Regions from separate parts of the Homo sapiens genome. Here regions 2 and 3 are each linked to region 1. The links are contacts of gene promoters, found by promoter capture Hi-C in blood cells and fetal thymus (Javierre and others, 2016). All regions are on one chromosome and are shown on one strand. The core of a region is centred on a gene start or on the middle of the fragment in contact, and the rest is flanking DNA. Distances in the headings are between cores, read along the strand shown. Region 1 holds the start of BCAR1 (BCAR1 scaffold protein, Cas family member). Region 2 overlaps CFDP1 (craniofacial development protein 1). Region 3 overlaps TMEM170A (transmembrane protein 170A).

Region 1 (2,989 bases), core at 34-2,533:
CAGAGCACCTGAGCAGCAAATCATGGGCTGTCCTAGCCCCTTTTCAGATGAGAAAGGAGCCCAGAGAGGGGAGAGGGCCTGCCAAGGTGGCACATCTGGCCAGGCGCTGCGTAGGCTGAGCCCTGGGGGTCAGACAGAGGGGCAGCTGCAGGCCCACCTGGGCTTGTGTCTTCCATAGGCCATGCTTGAGAATTCTCTGCTGCGTGAAGCCGGGTCTACCCCGCTGCTTCCCTGCCACCAGGGCTGCCTCGTGGCATCCCATTGCTCAGCCAGTGGCCCAGGATTGTTGACTGAGGGTCCTGTCTGGTCTGGACCAGGCTCGGTCCTATCATCTCCCTGCAGATTGTGCCTCCCTGGCCTGGCCCAGGGGCTCTGGCACCCTGGTTCTGCTGCATGGGGTGACAGTCACTGACCTGCAACCGAGCAAGGGGCAACTCAGGAGAGCCAAGGTTGTCTCCACTCGGTTTCCCCCGAGTGATTCTTCCTTCTATCTCCCTCATTCCCCCAGTGCCGCTCTCCTACCCCATGTCGCTGAAGCAGATGAGTTGGAGCAGGACTCAGGAGGGTACTAGGCCCAGGTTTTAGGCTGAACCTAGGAATGAGTAATGAGAGGAGGCAGATCAGCTGGAGGACCAGCCCGAGTCCCCAGATGTCGGCACAATGCAGGGGAAGGTAGGTGCTGCCCGTGAAAAGCGCTGGGTCGAGAGCTCGCCAGCCTCCCTGCTTGAGGCTTCATTTCCTGGGGTCCTTACACGGTGGGACCGTCTACAGTCGGAGCTGTGGTGGTGATGATTCGTCTCCTACAGGCTGGGGCACGCCCCCTCCCCTTTCCCTCTAGATTCAGATTTGAGTCCCACGGCCCATGGACACGCGATGAATGCCCTGGGGTTGGTTAGCGGGAAAGACAAGTCGACTTGAGGCCATGTCTCGGCTCTGGAGGAAGAAGGCAAACCGGGCAGCCTTCCCAGAAGTGGAGGAGTTTGCGTAGGCCTTCGGTGCGTTCTCGCCTGGGTGGAAGGCGGGGACGTGCATTTGTTGGAGAGCGGTGTCCTGCGCCCTAGGCTGGAAGCCTGGCCTCGGGCAGGGGCCTGGAGCCTCGGGGTTGGAGGTGGGGGGCGGGGCGGGGGGCGGCCCCTACTGGGCGGGCTTCTGTCTGCGCGCCCGCGCCCCCGACAGGCGGCTTATTTGCATGGAGAGCGGCGGCGGCCAATGGGCGCGCGCGGCCGGGCATGCTGGGATCGGGCTGGGCCGGCTGGGCCGTGGCGGCAGGCGGAGAGCGGCTGGACCGGCTCTGGGTGGCCGAGGCGGCAGCTGCGCGGCGGCACCGGGGCGGCTGCGGCGCGCTCGGAGCCCCGAGGGCACGCGGCCCGGGCAGCTCGGTGTGCGCCCCCGCGAGAGCCGGGGCCCCAGGCCCGCCGGACACCATGAACCACCTGGTGAGGGCGCCAGGTGGGGCCGGGCCGCGTACGGGCTTGGAGGCGGCAGCGGGCTGGAAGGGGTTAAGCGAGCGGCATTTCCTGCCGGACCTGCGGGGCCTGGGAACCGCCGGCCGGGGTCCGCGGCCCTGGGATCTCCTTCTGCCCTGGCCGGGAAGCCGGGAGGCAGGAACCGCGGGGGCTCCGGAGCCTGTGCGCCTCGGGTGCGTTGGCGGGGCCGGGCGCGGGGGCCGCCAGCCGGTAGGAGGGTTCCTGTGTCGGGAAAGTGGCTGGCGGGGCCCGCGCTCCCCGGCCGACGGCCGCCTGCTGTGTCACCTTGGGCCTCTGCGCCCTGCCTCCGAGCCTCAGTTTCCTCGGCTGCGAGGAGGGGCCGTTGAGCCTCTGGCGGGTGGTCCGGCTGGTGTGGCGTGGGGACTGCCCACCGGCTCCCGGAGAGGGAGGAGCTCCGGGGGACCGAGGCCGGGCGGGCAAGTGCGTGGCGCCAGCGGGGAAGGCTGCGCAGCCGGAGCACCCGGCTCCAGTTAATGATTCACTCCGGCCGCCGGCGCGGGGTTCCGGGAGCGGAGCGGGAGTGGGGGCGGGCGCGCCGCGGGCTTTGCAGCCCCGCACGCCGAGCGCCGGTGGAAGCCGGGTCCTGGCCACAGGAGTCCTAGCCGCACGCGAGTGTCGCGGGAGGGGGCCAGGGCCGGGTTCTGCAGTGTGGACATGAAGGCTTTGGAGTCCATGGTTGGGGGACCCGCAAGAGCTAGAGCAGGGTCGGAGCTCCCTCTCGAGGGTCCGAGAGGCTGATCGCTGGACCGAGGTGAGGGAGTTGGGAAAGCGGAGATTTGCCTAGGGGTGCGGGGTGAGGGGCTTACGGCCTGGAAGATGTTGGGGTTTCGAGTTCCAGATCGGGGACAGCAGCTCCTTTTCTACCACAAGGCTCCCGTTCCCTCCTGAGAGTCCCTGGTTTCCTTTCCCACACCCCTCCCGGGGCCCGCCGCAGCTTTGGTCACCTTCTCAGAATGACCATGGGTTGATCTCTTCTTTGCTAGTGAGATGTTTCCCATCGCCCTGGGCCGGGACACGCCCCCTCTTGTGCCCATTCCTTTCCCTCGGTGGAGAGTTGGGTGGTGGGGGCTGGCCGGCCTGTGAGAGCAGGTGTCGGGGTGCCTGGAGAATCGGGGCCCAGGTACGGGGGTGGCGGGGCTGTGGGGAAAAGAGCTTTGGGGAGGAGCTGCTGACACTTCCTCCTGGCACTGCTTGCCCGGGAGCTGGGTGGAGGCAGGGCAGGGCAGGGCAGTCCCAGGTTCTGCCAGGAAAGTCACCTTGGGCTGGGGCAGGAGGCTTGGAGCTTCTGGCCGTTACTGTTTGTCTGAGCAGGAGGGTGAGCACTGTGTACTGGTACCATGGCCCCAGGTCTAGGCGAGGGATGGAAATAAGGACAGTGCCACTAGGGCCTCCTGTCTGTACAGGAGGGGCCCTGAGACAGCTCCTCAAACCCCTTTCCCATTATACGGATGGTGCAGATGGGGACACTGAGGTACAGAGAGACAGTCAGTTGTCCTCAGAAT
Region 2 (3,257 bases), core at 24-2,523, 140 kb before region 1:
GCGACGGAGTCTCGCTCTGTCGCCCAGGCCGGACTGCGGACTGCAGTGGCGCAATCTCGGCTCACTGCAAGCTCCGCTTCCCGGGTTCACGCCCTTCTCCTGCCTCAGCCTCCCGAGTAGCTGGGACTACAGGCGCCCGCCACCGCGCCCGGCTAATTTTTTGTATTTTTAGTAGAGACGGGGTTTCACCTTGTTAGCCAGGATGGTCTCGATCTCCTGACCTCATGATCCACCCCCGGCCCCACATTTTTAAAAAGAGTGTTGATTTTCCTAAAAAAGTGTGAGCTTTTTTAGGGTGGGCCTTCCCCATCTTTGCAGCCCTGGCTCTTAACAACAGAGTTATACTAGTATACTCTCTTAGGTTGCATTTACCCAGAAATAGACCCTGAGATAAAGGTTTAAGTGCATGTCATTTATGTGAGAGGTGATTCCAGGAAGCCCCAATAGAGAGGTACAAGAGAGGAAAGAAGCCAGTAAAGGTTGAGTTATCAAGCAGGTGACTGCTGGTGGTGACTGGCACTCATTCCTGCTGGGAAACTTAGAGATTGGGAAGAACACAGTGAGGGCTGAGGAGAGTGGGATGTTTAGCCTCCAGTGCCCATCGGACATTGGCTCAGAGCTGCTTCCACACATTCCTTGCCCTCTGTCCTCAGGCTGTGAGCTGCACGTGCTTGCTGTAAGATGCTGCTCTCAGCATGTATCATGGCACTGAATGCCAGGACATGTGGATGGGGCTACTTCCTCATCTGTTACATCTTTATCTACTTCATACTCAAGATATTTCTCTCCCACTGAGCAGAAGTCATGTAGTAGTTACACAGAAACCTATGGAGGAAGAGGATTTGACTGCTTGCTACCACAGTAGAAATGACATAAAATCAGATGAAGGCAGCTGTAGAACAAAATTCTACAGACCTGGCCCTGTTAATACTCTAAGCAAGTACTTTGTAAGCTGTGGTTTGGAATAATCAATTAAGAGAAAATATCAGAGCACATCACATGTAGTAGGAGTAAATACTGTTTTCCAGCCTGGCCAACATGGTGAAACCCCATGCCTACTCAAAATGCAAAAATTAGCTGGGCTTGGTGGCACATGCCCTTAATCCCAGCTACCTAGGAGGCTGAGGCAGCAGAATCGCTTGAACCCAGGAGGCAGAGGTCGAAGTGAGCTGAGATTGCACCACTGCACTCCCGCCTGGGCGACAGAGGGAGACCTTGTCTCAAAAGAATAAAGAATAAATAATGTTTTATAGAATTTTTATTTCAGTTACTTATATGCTTATACCTGGTAACAAGCTGTTTTTTTTTGTTGCTTTGTTTTGTTTTTGTTTTCAAGTTGGAGTCTCGCACTGTTTCCTGGGCTGGAGTGCAGTGGTGCAATCTTGGCTCACTGCAACCTTTGCCTCCTGGGTTCAAGCCATTCTCCTGCGTCAGCCTCCAGAGTAGCTGGGATTACAGGCACGTGCTGCCACGCCTGGCTAATTTTTTGTATTTTTAGTAGAGATGGGGTTTCACTATGTTGGCCAGGCTAGTCTTGAACTCCTGACTTCGTGATCCACCCCCTTCAGCCTCCCAAAGTGCTGGCATTACAGGCATGAGCCACTGCACCCATCCAACAAGCTGTATTTTTAATGAAGATTAGGATTTTTAAAATTTGAAGCTATAGGCTGAAACAACATGTTTTTGGCTTTACATTTATTGTATTGTTTGCAGGGAGTTCTCTTCAGACCAGTAGCTTTATTTATTTATTTATTTATTTTTTATTTTTTTGAGACGGAGTCTTGCTCTGTCGTCCAGGCTGGAGTGCAGTGGCGCGATCTCGGCTCACTGCAAGCTCCACCTCCTGGGTTCAAGCAGTTCCCTGCCTCAGCCTCCCGAGTAGCTGGGATTACAGGCGCCCGCCACCACACCTGGCTGATTTTTGTATTTTTAGTAGAGACGGGGTTTCACCATGTTGTCCAGGCTGGTCTTGAACTCCTGACCTCGGCCACCTGCCTCAGCCTCCCAAAGTGCTGGCATTACAGGTGTGAGCCACCACACCTGGCCACCCAGACCAGTAGCTTTCAAACTTTCTTGACTGCCGCCCATCATAAGGAATACATTTTACATTATGCCCTTGTACACCTATAAAAATAGGTATGTAAAAAGGTGAGATTAAAATTTGGTGAAATATTTACCCTTACTATGTATAATATGCTCTGATTTTCTGTTTTACATTATTGTGTATAGATGTGTCATTTAAAAAACTGTTATGACCTGCTGAATTGATTTCACAATCAACTGCAACCTGAATTTGACAAAATACTGCTCTAGACAACGTATGGAATTAGCCTTCAGCAGGTGATTAAGAGTTGCCAGGTTTGTATGTGGTATTATTAGTGTTTCTTGCACTTATTGAAAGTATTGCTATGAAGTTACCTCTGGATATAACCACCAGATGGAAATAAAGGCAAAGAAGCTCTTCTTAGGTTTCTGGTTAGTTTCAGCTAACACAGTTTTTACTTCTAGTTTCCTTGGATATTTCTTCTTAAAATAATCCCTGTTGATGCTTAGAGATTCTACTTGGAAACTGTATGTTTCAGAAAATACTCTTTGCTACTATAATTATGAAAATAACTAAAGAATGGAGAAATGGCAGCTTAAAATCAGCTTAAGTCACTCATGTAGAAATCTCACTGCTTGTCATATCCATGCCTGCCTTTCTTACAGCTAATATGCTTTTTAGAATAAGAAATCTGCTGAGATGATATCTGCATTAGGGAGATCCAGCAGGAAACAGATGGCATTCTCAAATATGATACTTTCTCACAAAGTGGTGGAAAACCACAGGGATACAAATATTGGTGTGGCCTCCCTGGGGCTGGTAATAATGAGACTCTATTACTACCCCTAGGCCTGAAAGGGCAAGAGTGGGAGCAGTTAATGGCAGGGGAAGAAAGGGTTAGGTGGAATGGACCTCCTGACAGGAGCTGAGACCTTCTGTTAAGTGATGGACTTCCCCCAGAGGGAAGCCAAGGGAATAAATACCCAGATCTGTTTCTTCTCTCTCTGCAGCCTCTTAGGGTACTCCATTGCCCTCTGAGGCTTATTAAAGAATATTCTGACACTTGTTAAAACTGTGAGAACACTTTATCCAAAACTATTGCAGTGGGTCTCAAGACTATCTCTGGGGAGAGAGAGAGTGCTCAACTCCGAATACAGCAAAGACAGCTGGGGATTTTTAGCAGAATCGGGAGGCAGGTGGTCAGTGGATAGAA
Region 3 (2,961 bases), core at 252-2,751, 200 kb before region 1:
GAGGCTGGAAGGCTGGGATTAGGGTGCCAGGATGGTTGGGTTCTGGTGAAGACCCTCTTCCTGACTTGCAGATGGCTGCCTTCTCACCATGTCTTCACATGGCAGAGAGAGAGAGGTATCAAGAGATTGAGAATCTCTTCCTCTCCTAAGACCACAGTCCTGTAGGGTTTAACACAGGAATAGTAGGGGCACATAATTCAGCCCTTAGCACTTGGATGGCATACCTGTGTTCCAACCTGCTTTCCTGGAAATTACCAGCTTCGTGTGTTTCTGGGATATTAAGGCTTTGCCTCCCAGTTCAAGGCCTCAGTGGTTCTGTGGCAGCTGGTAGGAAGCCAGGCTCCAGCAGTGCCTTGAGTTACTGCAGAAAGCAGAGCTTCTCTCTAAAACTCTGGCAGCTCCAGCAGAAGCCCTGGATAGCAGGGACCCAGGGCTGATCTCAGGTCAGTATGGGGCAGACAGCAGCCAGGTGAAGATTGTTCTGAGTTCTTGGAGGCAGGTTTGCATCCCATTTGTCCACTTTGGACCAGTGAATTCCTGATGCCATCATAGAATTTTCTGTAGACTAGGTGTTGGGGTAGTCAGGATCAGATTGATTTGGGAGTGGCACGTGAGGACTCGGGATAGAAGATGGTCTTTCTGCTTTGGAAGAGAAGCATGGTGCTGTGTGGGGGCTTGGGGATGAGCTGGCGGTGGGTGGTGGACAGGGGGCCTCAGCTGGGAGGCCAGGCCACTCTTGACTGATCCAGGGGCCACAGTAGCTGCCCAGGCAGGAGAGATTTGTGTGGGCACCAGAGCTCTGGCAGGTGCACATTTGTTAGGGAGGAGCAGTATCCAGATGCAGGCACTGCTCCCTCTGGAGTTGCTGCCAGCCAGGGAGGGTGCGTCTCTGGGCAGCGAAAGGCAGGAATAGCTCCTGGCCTAATGGCGGCTAGAAGAGAAACTGCAGGAGGATATGGGTTTGTTGTGGAAGAGGTGGGGGCTGAAACCCTGAGGACCAAGAATCCTGCCCTCAATTTCTGATTGACACTATTGACTAAGGCTGACTTTTTTCATTGGTGGAGGAAGACTCCTGAGTCGCCAGGATTACAGGCTTGCGCCACCCCACCTAGCTAATTTTTATATTTTTTGGTCGAGACGGTTTCGCCGTGTTGGCCTGGCTGTTCTGGAACTCCTAACCTCAGATGATCCACCCGCCTCAGCCTCCAAAGTGCTGGTATTACAGATGTGACCCACTGTGCCCGGCCTCATTTGTTATTTTTAATAAGCATTGAGACCTAATTGGGGCATCCTTGATGTTTTCACCGAGAACCATTTATCCAAAACAAGACCTGAGCACTCTCACTGGAAGTGTTCAGAATATGCTCTGAATTGAAGCTTTATTAACTCAAAATGGGCAAAGAATTTGAGCAGTCATCTGTGACAATGTCAAGGGTGGGTTAAGGGGATTTGGCTCCACCCCTATCTCCAATAGCCCCTTAAATCCAGCTTCTCAACAAGATTAAGAAGCCTGTGTAAAGGGAATAAAAATACCTTCATAAAACTGTGGTTTTCATTGATCTGGGGGAAAAAACACACACACTAACAGTGTGCTTACAGTGCTAATACAGCTTCAGTAAAGCTTCTGGTCCTCCTCTCCTCCCCCTTTCTAATCCCCTCAAGCGGATTGATGCCCCTGACTGGTCTCTTTTAAATTGTTTATCCCAATAAGCTCATTCTTCCTGAGCAGTTCTTGTGAAAACAAAAGCTTTGTTTTTTCTTACCTTGTTTTTCTTTTTAAAGTCTAGCTCTCTTGCCCTCGGCTCATTGCGACCTCTGCCTCCTGGGTTCAAGCGATTCTCGGGCTTCAGCCTCCTGAGTAGCTGGGATTACAGGCATTTGCCACCACGCCCGGCTAATTTTTACGTATTTTTAGGAGAGACAGTGTTTCACCATGTTGGCTAGGCTGGTCTTCAACTCCTGGCTTCAAGTGGTGGGATTACAGGCACGAGCACCATGCCTGGCCTATCTAATAATTATTTATTAAATAAACATGCTCAGTACATAGAAGCATTTCCACATGAGTGTTTATTGTGTTTGTTTTCTCAAAAACAGGATCTTATTCTACATGCAACTGGCTTTTGTTACTTCACAATGTGGCTTGGGCATCTTGCCCCTTCAGTATATATACATCTATTGCATTTTTTTTTTTTTTTTTGAGACAGTGTCTCGCTCTGTCACCCAGGCTGGAGTGCAGTGGCGTGATCTCGGCTCACTGCAAGCTCCGCCTCCCGAGTTCACACTATTCTCCTGCCTCAGCCTCCCAAGTAGCTGGGACTACAGGTGCCCGCTGCCTTGCCCAGCTAATTCTTTGTATTTTTAGTAGAGACGGGGTTTTACCGTGTTAGCCAGGATGGTCTCAATCTTCTGACCTCGTGATCTGCCTGCCTCAGCCTCCCAGAGTGCTGGGATTACAGGCGTGAGCCACTGTGCCCAGCCCATCTATTGCATATTTTAATGGGACTTTGTAGTATTACGTGGGTGCACAGAATGTGTTTTCCAAATTCTGCAGTGATAGCCATGCAGGTGACTTCTAGTTTTTGATATTATGGACAATGCTGTTGGGACCTTCTTGTTACCTCTGTCCTTGCCTACCTATGCTTTTCTGTGGGGTGTATCCCCGGAAGTAAAATTGTTGCAGCAAGGGCCATGCACATTTGACTTCCAAATTACCCTGCAAAAAGGTGGTTTTCCAGTTTGTATTCCAACTAGGAGTGTCAGGTGGGGCCTGTGGAATAATGTCATGACAACCGTTACTGCTCAAAACCTATACTGGCACTTTAGATCTTTTGTGAAGTCCTTAGTCTGGTGTCAAATTCCCCAAAGGGTTTCCCTCATCTGTCTTTATAGCTTTAACTGTCATTGCTCTTTTATTTTTTTGAGACGGAGTGTCATTCTGTCTCCCAGGCTGGAGTGCAGTGG

Evidence for each region. The method cuts DNA at HindIII sites, captures the fragments that hold promoters and counts their contacts. A CHiCAGO score of 5 or more calls a contact.
Region 2: a contact is called between a fragment that was not itself captured here and the fragment with the promoter of BCAR1 in region 1, in 3 of 17 cell types (M1 macrophages, endothelial precursors and M2 macrophages). The highest score is 9.3, in M1 macrophages.
Region 3: a fragment that was not itself captured here is called in contact with the fragment with the promoter of BCAR1 in region 1 in 1 of 17 cell types (M1 macrophages); the score reaches 5.6 in M1 macrophages.

What each region holds. Positions count from the first base shown.
Region 1 is chr16:75,249,918-75,252,906 of GRCh38, reverse strand. It overlaps BCAR1 (BCAR1 scaffold protein, Cas family member), which reads left to right and starts at 1,283. Exons shown (of 7, transcript NM_014567.5): 1 at 1,283-1,436. The coding sequence starts at 1,425. RefSeq lists an enhancer at 531-1,071 and silencers at 1,071-1,180, 1,241-1,400. The HindIII fragment of the contact is 27,287 bases long and covers 1-2,989 here.
Region 2 is chr16:75,390,481-75,393,737 of GRCh38, reverse strand. All of the region lies in intron 5 of CFDP1 (craniofacial development protein 1), which reads left to right. Among named protein-coding and RNA genes, the nearest start is that of CFDP1, 41 kb to the left of the region's middle. The HindIII fragment of the contact is 5,149 bases long and covers 1-3,257 here.
Region 3 is chr16:75,454,593-75,457,553 of GRCh38, reverse strand. The region is part of intron 1 of TMEM170A (transmembrane protein 170A); the gene reads left to right. Among named protein-coding and RNA genes, the nearest start is that of TMEM170A, 8.6 kb to the left of the region's middle. RefSeq lists an enhancer at 598-1,099. The HindIII fragment of the contact is 244 bases long and covers 1,380-1,623 here.